Linked DNA regions of Homo sapiens: region 2 is linked to region 1. The links are contacts of gene promoters, found by promoter capture Hi-C in blood cells and fetal thymus (Javierre and others, 2016). All regions are on one chromosome and are shown on one strand. Each heading gives the region's core, a stretch centred on a gene start or on the middle of the fragment in contact. The rest is flanking DNA. Distances are from core to core; before and after follow the strand shown. Region 1 holds the start of TYSND1 (trypsin like peroxisomal matrix peptidase 1). Region 2 overlaps SGPL1 (sphingosine-1-phosphate lyase 1).

The links. The method cuts DNA at HindIII sites, captures the fragments that hold promoters and counts their contacts. A CHiCAGO score of 5 or more calls a contact.
Region 2: a fragment that was not itself captured here is called in contact with the fragment with the promoter of TYSND1 in region 1 in 1 of 17 cell types (naive B cells); the score reaches 5.0 in naive B cells.

The regions. Positions count from the first base shown.
Region 1 is chr10:70,144,608-70,149,070 of GRCh38, forward strand. It overlaps TYSND1 (trypsin like peroxisomal matrix peptidase 1), which reads right to left and starts at 2,093. Exons shown (of 4, transcript NM_173555.4): 1 at 814-2,093. The coding sequence starts at 1,979. SAR1A (secretion associated Ras related GTPase 1A) reads right to left here. Exons shown (of 7, transcript NM_020150.5): 7 at 2,682-4,463. RefSeq lists silencers at 995-1,224, 1,555-1,864 and an enhancer at 1,355-1,404. The HindIII fragment of the contact is 18,251 bases long and covers 208-4,463 here.
Region 2 is chr10:70,831,539-70,836,001 of GRCh38, forward strand. The region is part of intron 2 of SGPL1 (sphingosine-1-phosphate lyase 1); the gene reads left to right. Among named protein-coding and RNA genes, the nearest start is that of SGPL1, 18 kb to the left of the region's middle. The HindIII fragment of the contact is 738 bases long and covers 1,754-2,491 here.

The DNA of each region.
Region 1 (4,463 bases), core at 843-3,342:
TACACACTCTGCAGGGGTAGCTTCCAACAGACCTGGCAGTCTCCTTAGGAGCAAGGGGCATGTGGGGGGAGTGGAAGGAATCTGGTGGGGGCCACACACCATAGGCAAACCTTCATCATCAGTCTTCCCTATAAAGTCATGGCTGTCCTATAGGCCACAGTGGGGACACCTATGGCAAAACTGGGCAGTGTTACCCACACCTGGCTAAGCTTGGGGATTCAGGAAGAGATTTGGAAAAGCCTGGGCTGCAAGGCTGGGCTGAACCATGTACAGCTGCGTGGGCCACCCCCCTACCTTCTGATTACGTAGAAACTCACGTTTCACTCAGACGGGAAGCTCTGGCTAAGCACTAAAAGATGGATAAAATTAACATACCCATCTCCTTACCCCAGGAGAGCACCATCCTGGGCCTCTGGGACCTTATCACTTTCAGAGGAGAAGCAGCAGGGTTAGGGAATCTCTGTTCAAAGGGCCAGAGAACCGAGGGGTATGGCGTGCAGGGCTATCAGACAGTGAAGCTGCCCAGAAGAAACTCAGCCTTTGAGGGGAGCTCAAAGATGCCCTGTTCCGGATTCAGGGTGTCCCACAGTACCCAAATCCAGAGCTGCTTCGAGCTTGACACCTTGCCCCAGATTCTCCCCACAGGGGTTCTGGGTATAAAGGATGAGGGGAGGGTTCCAGGTCTCTACCCACTACACGCCCAAAGCATCCGCGTGACACAAGAAAGGCCTGCACAATACTCAAGAGTATTAGGGCTGGACCCAGATCTGAGACCTGGAAAGGGATGAAGTGGCGTCAGCCCTGCGGGCTTACTTGGGGGTGGTGGAGCGCACCAGGACCCTGGCTGCTTCCCGAGGGGACACGTGCCGACAGGTCACTACAAGGCGGGGTGCCACAGCCACTCCGGAGCCCCATACGGTGCCGCACTCCACCAACACTGCCGCGGCTGCCCACAGGGGCCCGGAGTCTCGGAGGGGCAGACCCCACGGGACGCCCACCTCTGGCGGCAGAAGGGCGGCCAGGGCAGCGGTGCTGTGCGGCAGGCGGTGAAGCGCGTCGCGGGCGGCGCGGAAAAGGGGGGCGGCGGCGCAGAGCAGCGTGAAGCCCACCCATTCGCCGGCCTTCCAACAGAGCGGCGCCACCACCAGCGCCACCAGCGCCCCCGCGGGCCGCGCGGTGAACACGCCGCCGCCCTCGGTGCCGGGCAGGCAGCGTGCGTCGGTAAGCAGCAGTGGGCCGGCCACGTTGCTGAGCACCCCGCAGCTCAGCGTGTTGAGAAAGATGTCGGGGCAGAAGGCGCCGAAAGGGGAGCCGCAGACCAGCAATGGCGCACCCTTGGGCACGGCCCCGAGAGGCGACACCGCCATGGCTGGCCCGCGCTCCTCCTCCACCTCCTCCTGGCCTAGCCGCACGCCCAGCAGCGCAAACCAGCCCAGCGCTCTCAGTTGATCCGCCTCCTCGTCCTCCGACACTTCGTCATCCCGCGCCGCGCTCGAGAAGCGCCACTGTTCCGCTGCCTCGTCCCCGAAGAGGCGCGCGAAGTGGGCCCAGAAGGCCGGGCAGCTCAGCAGCAGCAGCAGCTCAGCAGGAAGCCGGGGCTGCAGGGGACGCCCGCGGGACGGGGCAGGTGGGCCGGGCTCGAGGCTCGCGCACTGGGGCGTGCACAGCCCTGGGCGGCCCCGCTCCGCGCCGCCCCCGGGACCCGCGGCCGTTGGGGCCCACTGCACGTGCAGGCGCAGGTCGTCCCTGCAACTGTCGCCAGGCAGGAAGACGGCGCCGGCCGCGGTCAGGACTTCGCTGCCAGCTCGCAGGAAGGGGACGAAGATGCCCCCGTGGCAAAGCACCAGGCCCGGGCTACGGCTCAGGATTACCCCGCTGCAGCTCCACGGGCCCGCCTCGGGCTGTCCGGCCCGGGAGGCGCTCACCATGCAGCCCGCCTGCTCGGCCGCCCTCATGGCAGACCCCCACTGCCTTCTCATGGCCTCTAGGCCGGACACTCGGGAGCTTCTCCGAGAAACAGCAAGCTAGCGAGCGAGGACCCCTACCCGGTCCGGCTGAAGCTGCCTAGCGCCACCCACAGCTGGAAGCGAGAGGCGCAAGCTCTGACTCACGTCTTCCTCATCGAGCCCGATTGGCTAAGCCCCAATTGACCCGACCCGATTGGCTGGGCTTGTACCGAGCTCTGATTGGCTTCCTATTCTGATTTTTTTTTTCCTTTCCCCGCCCTCGTTAGTTTGTCCAACCGGTGGGACATAATCTGCCCCATTCCCCCGGATGAGCCCCGGGGAGAGTAAGAGGAGTGCGGCGTCACGAGGAATCAGAGGAGAGGAGGGTGGGTCCCTTCAAGCCTAGTCTCGTTTGCTGGAATGTGGGAAAGGGAATAGAAATGAGCGCTGACGTGCCTAGATTTGCCCAGGCCACGACAGTACCTGTGAGCATCTGCCCAGGTCTAGGCGACCTTCAGCCTCTGACCCTTGGGATAATATGGACCAAGGAAATCCTTGGCCAATTCAGTGTTTTGAAAATTTAAAAGTAAACCCTATAGCAATCCACTAGGGGGCATGGAACTCTCAAGATTACTCCTAGGATTTTTTTTTGCTGCCAAAGCCCCAACACAAATCTCCGAGAAACTGGATTTGCTGTAAATTAAATTGCCCTTTAAATCGACTATGAACAGTAGCTGAAATCAAAAATTTTAATCATACAGGCCTATATTTTACAGTGTGCACATTTCACATAACATAACCACCAGCCAGGATTTATCTAGGCCAGGGTCCAAATACTTTCTGTAGAAGGCCAGAATGGAAACAGTTCCAGTTTGGGGGGACCATACAACTTGTCTCAAATAGTCAACTCTGCAGCTGTTGCATACAAAAGCTAAAGGAATGGCGGTGGCTGTGTCCCAATAAAAAGATACAGACATTGAAATTTTAATTTCATACAATTTTTTGTGTCCAAAAATAGCATTCTTTAAATATTTTTTCCAACCATTTAAATATGTAAAAACCTTTCTTTGCTCACAGGCCATACAAACACAGGCAGCAGGCCCGATTTGACCCACAAGGCATAGTTTACCATCTCTAGTGTACACTAACATAAACTGCTCTACTTTTCCAAAGAAGTACGCTTTAGGACAGAGGAGGATGAACGAGTATGTCGGGGAGTGGGGGGGCGCGGAGCTTCATGATACCCTCAATCAGTCACCACAAGCTAGACAGTTTACAAAGGTCTGCTTTATCACTGAATTGATAAAATACACATTATTTTTTATTTATTTATTTATTTTTTTGAGACGGAGTCTCGCTCTGTCGCCCAGGCTGGAGTGCAATGGTGCGATCTCCGCTCACTGCAAACTCCGCCTCCTGGGTTCACGCTATTCTCCTGCCTCAGCCTCCCCAGTCGCTGGGACTACAGGCGCCTGCCACCACGCCCAGCTAATTTTTTGTATTTTTAGTAGAGACGGGGTTTCACCGTGTTAGCCAGGATGGTCTCGATCTCCTGACCTTGTGATCCGCCCGCCTCGGCCTCCCAAAGTGCTGGGATTACAGGCGTGAGCCACCGTACCCGGCCATCATTAATTTTTATTAAGGTTACTGTATTGCTTACCATATACAATTGCTACTTAAATTCTCTAATCTTTCTGCCTGAATTCTTTAAATAAAGTTAACACTGCTTGGTATAACCCCAGCACAACACAGGATAATGCTCCCAGTACTCCCAGTGACACAAACCTGCTAGAGAAAGGAAAACGATTATCCATGATAGTATGAGGCAGGAATAAAATTAGGCCATCTTGCCATAGCAGGCGGTCTTCTTTTGGTTCTATGACACAGAAGGTGGCTTGATCACAGCACAATTTCTTTATCCCAACTTCCTAGCAATCAAAGAGTTTTTCTCTTGGTGGAGCACAGGGGCTCACACTTGGAATCCCAGCACGTTGGGAGGCTGAGGTAGGAGAATTTCCTGAGCCCAGGAGTTTGAGACCAGCCTGGGCAACATGATGAGACCTTAACTCTACAAAAATTTTGAAAACTAGCTGAGCACGGTGGTGCAACCCTGTGGTCCCAAGCTACTTGGGAGGCTGAGATGGGAGGATCACTTAAGCCCAGGAGGTCAAGGCTGCAGTGACCTATGTTCATACCACTGCACTCCAGCCTGGGCGACAGAGTGAGACCAACTCAAAAAACAAACAAACAAACAAACAAACAAACTTTCTCTCTCGAGTCCAGTGATTCTCCCTCAACGCTCAAGACTCCAGCATGAACTGTTAGGCATTGGGTTTTTCTGTGTTTACAGCAGACCATGGTAAAAAGAAGTCCCAAGTCACAGCCAGAACGCCAAAGTAAGATCTGTTGAGTGCTAGGCTCATGGACTGAGCCTAATCTTATTTTCCACTCTGCCTCAAACAAAACAACTCATTTGCCCATACAACCCATGGCATCCTTTCACAGTAACAAGGACAA
Region 2 (4,463 bases), core at 873-3,372, 690 kb after region 1:
TTTACAGGTTTATTTTAAGGGATACTGCAAAGGTTACAAATGAAGAGATGCATGGGGCAAGGTATAGGGGAAGGGGTGTGGAGCCTCCATGCCTCCCTGGGTGCACCACCCTCCAGGAACCTCCATGTGTTCAGCTATCCAGAGGCTCTCTGAACCCTGTCCTTTTGGGTTTTTATGGAGGCTTAGTTACATAGGCATGATTGACAACCATGTAGAAATGTGACTGGACACAGGAGGCATGATCTCATACTAATAGACTGACCGGAAACCCAGCAAGGCCTGTCTGTTCAGGTTGTCGCTGGCCTTTCTGTGCAGCCTTCCTTCCTCCAGAATATGGGGCACAACCCTCCCAGGAATGAGGGTTTTTTGGCCCACAGTTGGACTAGAGTCTTGCTTTGAGGCAGGTAAAAGAGGACAGGAGAAGGTTGAGAGAGATTCTGTTTCCTGAGGCCCAAAGTGCCCCAGCATTATAATAGAAGACTATAACAAGGGCTATGGGGGTTATGAACCAGGAACCATGGATGCAAACCAATATATACGTATAACATCACAGAAGCACACTTTCCTGCTCACTTTCAATAGATACCACAAAGTTTGAAACTCTTCCAAGTATTAATTTTAAATTAAATTTACTCAGCTGCTTACTTCAGCTTTTAAAAGTAGGTTCTTGGTAATTTCGAAGATGCACTTTCCAAAGGGTGTTTATATAGTTGAAGGTCAGTCAGAGACCTAGGGATAGGTCCCTGCTTATTCTTTTGAGCAGGCTTACGTGTTGGAAATCTCTAGAGAAATAGCTTTAGTTAGGTTACACTTCTCAGCAAATATTCAGTATTCCTCATCTCTAATAGCAGCATGACTGTTGTAGGGAAGGAATTTCCACAAATGGTTATGAAAAGTCTAAGTGTCTTAACTCCCAGACAAAGATAGAGAATTCTGTTAGTAAGATAAGTATGGGACTGGAGAAGTCAGCTAACCTCTGCCCTTCCCCAATCGTGATATGCTCAGAGAAGTTAAGACTTCTTTCTGTGTGAGAAATACGGGATCTTTTCCACTAGATCTTGCTTATTATCCAAGAAATTATCATTTCTAGTTTTAGAGAATGATGAAACTCATTTGTGCTTTGAAATATAACCTGTATACATGTGCACAGTAAGTCATTTAGCTATTTATTGTCAGACTCTGAGAGTTCATAGCAAACTTAGCAACATTCCATGTGCAAATTTGCATATTTTTCCCCCCATATCTTACCTACTTGCCTTAGGCTGGGAGTCTATTTTCCTACAAAACTGGTAATTGCTCTTATCTCTGTGTCCTTCAGTGTGTTCCTCTGCTTATTGAATTCAGTTTTATGCATTTAGTCTTCTCTCCTAGTATAAGCTGCTCCTGATACTTTTAAATATGTATTTCAGAAGAGAGGTGCTCAGAATTGTTACTTAACAGAATCAGCATCTCCCTTTACTTGATGCCTTGTCCTGACCACAAGTACATTAATAAAGTGACCATTTAGCAGTGTTTCGGGTTCAGCTTTTAGGAACTTAGAAGCTGTGGTTTTCCATGAGTGCACTTCTGATGACTTGGGAACATTTCATATGTGTGTTCTTTCTGTGGCCAAGATGGTTTTGTTATTTCAGGGATGGAAAGATGCTTTGCCTGAATACTCCCATGCTAAGTGTATAGCAGTTGGTGCTTGGGGAATGGTACCAAGTGTACATATCTGGCAAGGCCAGGCTAGAAGGGAAAATGTAGACTCTTAAGCTTTTTGAGACGAACTTCTCAGATACTGGATCTCTTGACTCACATAGTGGAATTTTGGGGGAAGTATGTGGTTTGCTTTTTGTCTCCTAAGAAATGATGATTCAGTTTCCTCAAACGTTTCTCACAGTCACTACTGGTTGCTTGGAATGGCTGTCTGGTTTTGTTGCTCAGTTCTTACTTCTTTAATGACCCAAGAGGATTTTCCCTTTGGGGTTGTGATGTGTTTTTGATGATAAACTTTAATGCTTTTGGAGGCTATAAAGACAATAGTATTTTCTTACCTGTTTACCTTGCACTTTGAAGTTCTGTAGACTGTAATATGAAAGAAAATCAGATTAAATTAGCTTTGCTTTCTGGCTTTTCTTTTTTTGGTGGGGGGGCAGAAGCTGATAAGAATAAATATACTAACTGAGTCTCTTCTGTATTTTAACTTCACTCCCTAGGCTGAGGCTTAGTCCTTAGAGTAACATTTGAACTGGGTAGAACAGATTTTTCTTTTCCTCAACAGCCCATTCCTGCTGTAAAGCTCAGATTTATGGTCCTTCTGGAAAAAGTATTGAGCGTTGAATAGTTCAGGAAAACAAATAACAAATTCTGTCTTCTTTGCAGGATTGTGGGGTAGAAGATTTTGATTTTTATTAGTATCTGGCCAAAGAATAAATATTAGGCAGGAACAATGAATTGATATCTAGTAGAGTGACGTGACTGGGCCCTGACTTTTAACACTTCCCAGGAAAGCTTCGTGGATGTCTTTTCCCTGCTGCGTGAATACCGGGTAGCCATTAAGTTTGGTGATTGGGTGTCAGTAATATGTTAAGTCAGCTACTGGGTCATCTTTTAATAAAAGAAAAGGATGGGGAAGAGAATGGATTCTTAAGCAGTGTTGCCTGTCAGAATCACCGGAGGGAGGTTTACAAAATACACATTCTGTACTCTGACCCTGTGGGTGGGGTATTCTGACCCAAGAAGATGATTCGTTCCAGGAATCATGCTTCTTGGATGATATTGATGTACCCCCACTGGCTTTATGGAAAGAATATTGAAGAAGAAGATAGATTCTCTTGGGGGCTGTGCCTCTAGTTTGAAACCAGGGAAGGCACATTTTGGTATTAGTCTGTGGCCTCAGTTTCTTCATCACTGCAATGAGATTGGACTATAGGTGGTCTCTAAGGTTCCTTCAGACAGTAGCATTTTATGATTTTGAAGACAACTTTTCTGAAGTACTTTTCAAACTAATTTCTTTCCGTCTTTCTTTTGTAAGCAAATAAGTAGTATGAGTGTAAGTCTCTAGCTCAGAGAAGAATGAAGTTTGCAGTTCGAAAAGGCCATGCAATAGCAGTTCACTTCCCCAAAATGCTCAGCCCTTGTAGGATGCCGTTAGGTCATCTGGAAGTTCTGTATGCCTTCACTGGGAGCGTAGTGAAGATGAGAGCCTTTCCTTTGGCTCTTGGAGTAAACTAGCTGACAGGACTTTGAGAACTGTTGGTCTCCTGATTTGTGCCACTGATAGTTTGGCTCTGGAAAACTAGGCAGTGGAAAAAACAATGCATTTTAAACCAGAAGATTTGAGTCCTGGCTCCGCTATTTCCGAGCTTTGTGACCTGTAGGCCTCAATGTCTTCATCTGTGAAGGACAGGTTCAGCTCTGATGGCCTATGATGTGATGAACCTTGTGAACTTGTAGGCAGAGTGCCACGGTGTGCAGAGTCCAGTTACAGATAACCAGCCATTCTCCTCTGCAGATTCAACCCACTGCCACTGTGTCTTGTTAAGCTTAAATAGGAGAGATGTGGGAGAGAGGAGGCAGAAACATCCTAGGATCTTGCAAAACAAAACTGTCAAAAGTATAGGCAATATCATAATTACTTTATTTGAATAAACGTTGAGTTCCTGCTGTGTTGAAGATGCTGTTTTAGGCAGTGTAGGAGATAGAAGACTTATATCCTCCTCCTAATTTGTATTCTTATCAGCACCTGGTACCATAGAGAGTTCATATATTAAAATTATTTGGTTGTTCTCCCTAACCAGAGTTGAATTCTTTCCTTCTAGGACAAATTAACTCATAATGCAATAGGCTAATGCAGTTTGGCCCTGAGTGACTCTTGAGAAATACCCTGAGTTGAGGCACACTGGAAACGTGGCACATTAGAAATGCCAAGAAGAGGCCGGGTGCGGTGGCTCATGCCTGTAATCCCAGCTCTTTGGGAGGCCGAGGCGGGTGGATCACGAGGCAGGAGATCGAGACCATCCTGGCTAACACGGTGAAACCCTGTCTCTACTAAAAATACAAAAAATTAGCTGGGAGTGGTGGCGGGTGCCTGTAGTCCCAGCTACTTGGGAGGCTGAGGCAGGAGAATGGCTTGAACCCGGGAGGTGGAGTTTGCAGTGAACCAAGATTGCACCACTGCACTCCAGCCTGGGTGACAGAGCAAGACTCCGTCTCAAAAAAAAAAAAAAAAAAGAAATGCCAAGAAGACATTGTACAGGAGAATGAAGGGAAACTTTCTGTAGGGAAGTAGCTTTCCCAGAAACTTGACTCTATAATGAAGCTATAGAGATCAGTAAAATCATTAGGGCATTACTGTTTTGAACATTTCCTTGAGTGAATAACAGACTTACACTCAGGGCCCTAGGTCTCTGTTGTGGCCCAGCAAGCTGCATTCAGACAAGGAGGCAGTTTGAGAGGTACGAGTTGTTATGGAAGCCTGA